Linked DNA regions of Homo sapiens: region 1 is linked to region 2. Evidence: promoter capture Hi-C in human tissues and cell types (Jung and others, 2019). All regions are on one chromosome and are shown on one strand. The core of a region is centred on a gene start or on the middle of the fragment in contact, and the rest is flanking DNA. Distances in the headings are between cores, read along the strand shown. Region 1 has its middle 10 kb from the start of ACER3. Region 2 holds the start of LRRC32 (leucine rich repeat containing 32).

Region 1 (3,736 bases), core at 34-2,533, 180 kb before region 2:
GGCCGAGGCGGGTGGACCATCTGAGGTCAGGAGTTCAAGACCAGCCTGGCAAACATGGTGAAACCCCATCTCTACTAAAAATACAAAAATTAGCCAGGCGTGGTGGTGGGCTCCTGTAATCCCAGCTACTCGGGAGGCTGAGGCAGAGGATCACTTGAACCCGGGAGGTGGAGGTTTCAGTGAACCGAGATCGCACCACTGCACTCCAGCCTGGGCAACAGAGCAAGACTCCATCTCAAAAAGAAAAAAGAAAGAAAGAAAAAGGAATCAAGAATCACCTGGAATTTCATCATTTAGTAAACACTGATAATATTTTGGTGTATAACTAGCCAGATATTTTTCATACATATACATGTTTTATTAAAATAGTTATAAAATACAAATCATTTTGGAGCTTTCTGTTTTTACTTAAAATGCGTGATAAGTATTGAAAAATAAATGTTGTATGTACCTGCTGATGCTTATGCTTCCAGAAACATTATTAGACTAACCATCACTCCCAATTCCAGACTTTGAGGCTCTACTCTGATGCCATCCTGATGATCTCAGGAAGGCATTAGACCCCAGCAGCTGGACCCCAAGCCCCACTCTCCAGGCAGTGTTAGTGCTAGGGCCTGATTTTCTCATAAGGCCTGATTCTCTCATAAGACTTATTTTCTAAACTCAGAAGAAACTTGGATTACACAGAACAAAAGTCAATTTCAAGCTCCTTGAGCAAGCTAGACTTCCTGGGCCCCTTGTCTCCCAGGATTTCCCCTTGCAGACCTCTTCTATTACCTTCTATACCTCGGCCGCAGGCCACCTGCCATGTCTCCTGCCAGTGCCCCTATGTTCTCTCCCATTTTCTCCTGATTGGAGTCTCCTCTAGTTACATTACATCTTTGCAAAACTTGAATAAGTAAAAGCCAGTTTACATGGGAATCTGCAAAATGAATTGAACATCTATTATCAAGCAAGCTTAGTGTTGGGAATACAGAGTATTCCCAATTTTGACCTGGTAATAAATGAAATATGACAAAACACACAAAGCAAGTTAGTAAATTCACTTTCTAATAAATATTTAAGGAATCCCAGCTGTGTGTCAGGCACTATTCTGGGCACTAGAAGAGGAAAAACAGACAAATCTCCAAGGTCAAAATGGGGTTTTCTTGAGACTGAGTCTCACTCTGTTGCCCAGGCTGGAGTGCAATGGTGTGATCTTGGCTCACTGCAACCTCTGTCTCCGGGTTCAAGCAATTCTTCTGCCTCAGCCTCCCAAATAGCTGGGATTATAGGCGTGCACCACCATGCCCGGCTAAGTTTTGTATTTTTAGTAGAGATGAGGTTTTGCCATATTGGACAGTTTGGTCTGGAACTCCTGAACTCAGGTGATCCACTCGCCTCGACCTCCCAAAATGCTGGGATTATAGGCGTGAGACACTGCGCCCGGCCCGGGATTACCTTTTAAAATCTTTCTAACAATCCTGTGAATTAAGTACTACTTTTAGCCCTTGTTTACAGATGATGAAACTGACACAGTGAGGTTAGGTATTTCACCCAATGGCAGCCAGATCATAAGCAGCTGAGCCTAGGCTGGAATCCAGGCAGTCTGGTGCCAGAGGCCATGTTCTTCTCTGCTGTGCCAAGCTGGCTGTGTGAGCTTGGAAGAAAGGGCTGTGCTGGACAGAGAGAACTAGAGGTCTCCTTAGAGGCCAGCACTGTGTTTGGTTTTACTTTTTAGCTGAAGTGTAGGCAATGAGGCTTATGAGGTCTGCAGGGACAATGCCATCAAGGGCCTACAGGGTTTTAAGTAAGATCTTGATATGGGTATGTATGCAGAAGGGAGGACAGATTGACTGAATTGGGAAAGACTGAAGACATGGAGCCTGCAGAAGAGACTATTGCAGTGATAGGGTGAGTAGCAATAGTGATGGAGAGGAGAGGACAAATTCACCGATGTTTAGAGGGTAGAATCAACAGGAATTGGAGACAGACCTGTGGGGAAGGGTTGAAGGAGAAGAAAGTGGTAGGTTTCCAGCCATTCCTAGCTGCTAGGAAAACCAGAAAATTAATCTGGCTGTAGTAGATTGTTGTGGGTGGTTGGTCAGAGCAGAAGGCAGAGAAAGCATTTCTGGGCAAGAAACAGACTGTAAGGGCTTGAAAGGGCAAGAGAAAAACAGGCAGAATGAGACATTCGGAGTGGCTGAACTTGTGTGCAGACATGAGGGAGGAGTGAGGACAAATATCAGAGACTAGAGATGCAAAGGGTGGGGCCCAATATGCTGTGATAACGCATTTAGGGTTTATCTTAGTGTTCAAGAAAGGGAATAACATGTTTAAATCCACGTGTTAGAAGAAATAAGTTTTTGATGTGGGGATTTTTTGTAGTAGGGCAGGGTAAGGAGGAGGCGAGGGATCAGGAAAATCAGTTAGAAGGCTGTGGCAAATAATCTTGGCAAAGGATAGGACAGTCAGATTAAACTGCAACATAGGTCCTGGACAGTCCTTGTCCCAAATTTCCAGGAGAGAACTTCAGAGTTCCTTGCTTGGTGGAAGATAGAGAAGAGCTGAAGTTTACCAAGTGAGCTCCTGAGCCCAAAATACGCCACACCCTGGGAGGTAAGTCACCACACACACGAACAGAGTCAACAGCCTGTTTCCACCTGGAAAGCTGTTACAAAATAAATTTGATGAAGTTGAGTATTAATTGAATAGCTCTAATTTGATTGTTTTGTTTTGAATGAGGTTATGGAAACATCAACAATTTTTAAAGTACCCTAAAGATGCTTGCCCTGTGAACAGGAATTCCTTCCTTTCCGCATTGCCTATAAGCCAAGCCCTCTCTTTTCTTTAACTCATAATTTCTATCTGTGCATAGGTGGATGTCTGGTTTTCTTGTATCTACCCTAGCACTGTTACAGTCTAGAGGCTGACCCAAATCTCTATCTCTAACCCAGATCAGTTTCCACAGCTTCGGCTCTTCAATCAGTTAGGATCATGTTTTGCTGCAGGCGACAGAAAATTAGTTCCAGTGCCTTAACCAAAGAAGGGTTTGTTTTTCTCAGGCAGTAGACAGTCCAGGGCCCTGCCACAGCTCCACAGTGCCAGAATCCTTCTTCTTGCTCTGCCCCCTTAGGGTATGGTCTTCAGCCTCATGGTCACAAGATGGCTGCTTCTTGTCTAAGAAACCCAACTCTGTTTGGGTAAGACAAAGGAAGAAGGGCAAGGGTAAAAAGCAAATGCCAGCCAGGGCTGTCCATTGCTATCATGAAAACAATAGCCAGGCCAGGCACGGTGGCTCATACCTGTAATCCCAGTACTTTGGGAGGCTGAGGCAGGAGGATCACTTGAGCACAGGAGTTCAAGACCAGCCTGGGTAACACAGTGAGACCCTGTCTCTGAAGAGAGAAAGAAAGAAAGAAAGAAGAAAGAAAGAAAGAAAGAAAGAAAGAAAGAGAGAAAGAGAGAAAGAGAGAAAGAGAGAAAGAAGGAAGGAAGGAAGGAAGGAAGGAAGGAAGGAAGGAAAGCAAGCAAGCAAGCGGGGAGGGAGAGAGGGAGAGAGGGAAGGAGGGAAGTGAAGGAAACAGCCTCTTCAGAACCTACACCCATTGATATCCACTTAGAACTCTTTGGTTGGAACAGGGGTCTCATGACCAACCATAAATAGTCTGGGAAGACTGGCAAAAGAGTCTAGGAGAGTGGATGTTTTAGCTGGGCACCACACTGTCCAAACAAAATTGGCTTCTGTTAGGAAAAA
Region 2 (4,073 bases), core at 525-3,024:
CTTTCCTGAACATTTGGCCCCTTGGACAGGGACCTGGAAAAGGAAGCCCACAGGATATAGGAGTATCCACCAACTGCCACAATAAAGGCAGTGAGAAGTTGCCTAACAACCACTGGGTGCAGGCTCCAGCTGGATCCATTGCACTTAGTTCTAGCACCAACTCCAAGTAGTAGCTACTATCTTTCCCACTTTACAGATAGGGGCACTGAGGTTCCATTTGACCAAATGGAGCACTAGAGACCAGAGAGGGGGCTGGATGGACCAGCTAGGACCCTGTGGACATAGATCTGAGGCCTTGGGTGGCTGGGAGGGAAGGGAAAGAGGTTTGGATACCCTTCGCAGGCCCTGCTGAGAGATTCCTTACCTGCACCTCCTGCCCATCCCCTCACTGCAGCTCAGGCCTCCTCCTTAGGGAAGCCTTCCCTGATTTCCTCTTCTAAGACTAGGTCAGGCCCCTATGGCACCTGCTATCATGGCTTGTCCTCTCTGGGTTGACCCCATCTCCCCAGATCCATCTCCACAGTGGACTGAACAGGGGTAAGAAAAGGCAGTAACTGTAGAGACTTCAGGGAATCCCGCTTCTGAGCCCAGCCTTACCCTGATTTGCCACAAGGCCCTGGGTGGTCACTTTCATGCATGTAAAATGGGGCACCCTGCCCCACTCTCAGGGCTGGTGACGATCAGGGAAGAGAAACACTGTGGAAGAGGCCCCTTCTACACTTGGAACCAGGACCTGGAGGACAGCCAGGGCCCCTCTCTTCTAGGGACCCGCATACTAGAGTCCACAGGCAGCAAGGCAGGGTACCTGTGATTTGGTAGGGTCAAGGCATCTAGAAGAGAGGTGGCTTTGGGAAAGATCTGCTTCAACCTCCAATCTAAATGACAATACCGCCACCCCATATTTGCACAGTACTTTAAAAATTCGGGCAAGATAATGCCCAAACTGAATCAGACTTAGCTTTATGAACAGATTGGGCTCAAATCACTGATTCTTATTAGCTGTGTTGACTTTGGACACGCCATTTAACCTTTTCTGAGCCTCAGGTTCCCCAGCTATAAATAGGGACCTTACTAGTCTCAGACAATTGGTTTTCATGTGTACACACTGCCCCCACCCCTAGCCTCAGCTTCTCCATCCGAAAACAGGACTTTGATGGTGCCGTTTCACAGGCTGTTGAAGGGTCCCGCAGATGATGGAGGAGTACGGGTCCAGACACTAGAGCACAATCCGGAGAGGAAAAGTGACCTGCCAGGACCCACCAGAGTGGACGGCTTGGTGCGGGGAACCCCCTCCGCGGCCGCCCCAGGGCCAGCGAAGGGTCATTTCCTTCCGCATTCAGCCCCGCCGTCACCTCGCCTGTTTGCCCCCGCGTTAAGTGCGGCGGCGCCAGCAGCTGGGAAATCGGGGCCAGGCCGGATTTCCTCTGTGGACCTGCGGCTCCTAGAGCCACCGCGCCCCCCTCCGGACCCCGCGGGGCCGCGAACTGCACGTGCGGCGGCCGCTGGGATGGGCCTCGCTCCCACGGCGCTTCCTCTGCAACCCCTCTCCCTCCCGCCCTCTCATCCCCCCACACTGGGCCCCCGCCCCTTCCCGGCCGAGGTCCCAGGGTGGTGAAGATGCTTCGCCGCCCCACCCCACTCCGCCCCCGCCGGCTCCGGATAAACCGAGGCACGGGGCCAGGCGCTAGGACCCCACGGCCTCGCCAGAGGGGGGCGTGGCGGGGCGGGCCGGCGGGAGAGGTATTTAAATTGCAGCCGGAGCGCGGGGGCTCCGGTGGGGCAGCTGAGCGGCCTGCTCCTCCTCGGGCCGTGACCCCGGGGTCTGGCGCGGGGTGGGACCCGGGGGCGGGTTTGCGCAAAATGTGCCGAGACTGCCCGGGAGAGGAGCTGCGGCCGCGCTGAGCCAGGTAGGAGCCGCCGGGCAGGCGAGGCTGGCCGGCCCTCGGGGGGCGCACTGTCGCGCGCCTCTAGCGAGCGCAAGGCGGGGGCTGGTCCCAAGGGACGCCCCCCAAACACTCCCCTCCCGCCATCCCCACTGCGCGCGTGGAGCCGGGGCTGACCCTCCCTCGGTCCCTGGGAGTTCCCCAGCGCTCCTGTCTTGGCGGATCTTTCCCGCAAAGGGGTGAGGCCGGCCTTCCCATTTGACAGCTGGGAAAACAATGGCCTGAAGACCGTGACTTGCCCAGGAACACACAGCTAGGCAAGGGCAAACCGGAATTTGAATTCAGGTTTCCTGCAACGCTCCGATCCCAGCCAGGCGTGGGGCTGCCCATCCCACAGCACTAGATGGCCTGCCCATTTCTCGTAGTGGGGTAGGGGGCACCCACCGCTCTCCAAGGGGCTCTGAACCCAGCCTTCTTCATGGGTGGTAAGATGTGAGGGGCCCCCACCCCCACGCCGAGCTGCCTGAAATTCCGCCATCACAGCCACATTCCTTTGGGTTAAGGTCTAATTCCCCCGTGGGATGCACATGTCTCCAGAACGAGGCTTGCCCTTAGTGATTCACTGCTTGACAGGAACGTCCGCAGCAGCTCTCCCAGGACCCCACTCTGCCAGTAAGTCAGCTGAGGCCGAGAGGAGGGAGAGAGGACCTCAGAGGCCAGACTGTGAGCTAGTCTGCCCTGCTCCTGCGTGTGAGGGGTCGTTGGCAGGGCTTAGGGAAGGAGACCTTGATTTGGTATAGTGGGAACATTTGCTTTGGAGACAGATGAACTGGATTCTGATCGTGACCCTGCTATTTTCTCCTTGTGTGACTTTGGGTAAGTCACTTCTCTGAGCCTCCTTTTCTTCATGGGCAAAAAAAAGACAGTTCTATTGGGGGCAGTCGGCTCAGCATGTGCTGGAGAAAACACAGTATTCAGGTCATGTAGAACTGGATAAATCCCAGCTCCAAAGCCCTTATGAGCTGGGTAACTCTGGGGGTAAGTCACTTCACTTTCCGGAAACTGTTTTCTCATCCGTAAAATGGGAATTACAGTAATTTCCTCAATAGGTGATTGTGAGAATTAAATGAGATGATATAGGTCAAGTGCTTAGAAGACTAACATCCTTAAATGTAGGGGTGGGCTTATTGTGGTAGTAGTCATTGCCCCCCGTACCCCTGCTCTTTCTCTCTCACTCTCTCTCTCTCTCTCACACACACACACACACACACACACACACACACACACACACATTCTTTGGCACTTTTCTGAGTTGGACTCCTGAGAGTCCGACTCTCCTGCCTCCTCTTGCCCAGGCCACTTGTCTGCAGGCTTGGGGCCTCCCCACTGAGCACACCTCACCTGGGATGCTCAGCCCTGCGAGGGTCACTGTGTCAGCTGGGAAGGACAGTGAGGATGCAGGGCACCTTCGCCACCATTCTTTGCCTGATCATCACAATAGTTGGGGTTGGCCAGTGGCAGAACTGGAACCCAGCTGCCTACCCTGCAGACAGGACACTGGGGCACCAAGAAAGGAAGGGACTTACCTTAGGGAGCAGAGCTGGTGAGTGGTGGGCTTTGGATGCAAGCCTGGGTCTAAGTGACACCGTCCTCCTTTTTGAGAGAGAGTAGTCTTTAAATGCTACACCCTGTACTTGGGCACCACTGAGGAGGGCCCACAGCTGAGGGGCCCTTCCCGTCAGATGCCAGGACAGAGTGCCCATGTGCTGCAGGGACGATCCCTTCTGGATGTGCACAGGGCCACCTTGGGGATAGAGTGGGGTTTGGCAGAGGAAGGGGAAATAAGGGCCTAGGACCCTTCCTTGTCCTCACCTGGCACTCACCACTCAGTCCACTGCAGCTGAGCTTCTGCCCTGATTTTGCCACTTGTTCACTAGTCTTTAGTGAGTACCTACTTAGTAGGCCCCTGTTCCCACATGATAAGAAATAAATGATGAGGAAATGATAAATGTGGGAAAACAATGACATGTGTGAGGAGCTGAGGAAGAGCATTCAGGGAGAGGAAACTGCAGGAGCAAAGGCCCTGTGGCAGGAATGAATTTGCTGTGTTGAAGGAACAGCAGGAAAGCTGGAATGTGGTGAGGGAAGGGAAAATGGGCAAGAGTCAGAGAGGAGACTGTGGATAGCCTG

The links. Contacts are between HindIII fragments. The study calls those that stand out against the background at their distance.
Region 1: a contact is called between a fragment that was not itself captured here and the fragment with the promoter of LRRC32 in region 2, in 1 of the 25 tissues and cell types used here (stomach).

Annotation. Positions count from the first base shown.
Region 1 is chr11:76,848,834-76,852,569 of GRCh38, reverse strand. No RefSeq gene overlaps it. Among named protein-coding and RNA genes, the nearest start is that of ACER3, 10 kb to the left of the region's middle. The HindIII fragment of the contact is 4,177 bases long and covers 1-3,371 here.
Region 2 is chr11:76,668,448-76,672,520 of GRCh38, reverse strand. LRRC32 (leucine rich repeat containing 32) reads left to right here and starts at 1,774. Exons shown (of 3, transcript NM_001128922.2): 1 at 1,774-1,907. RefSeq lists silencers at 1,630-1,829, 1,890-2,019. The HindIII fragment of the contact is 10,955 bases long and covers 1-4,073 here.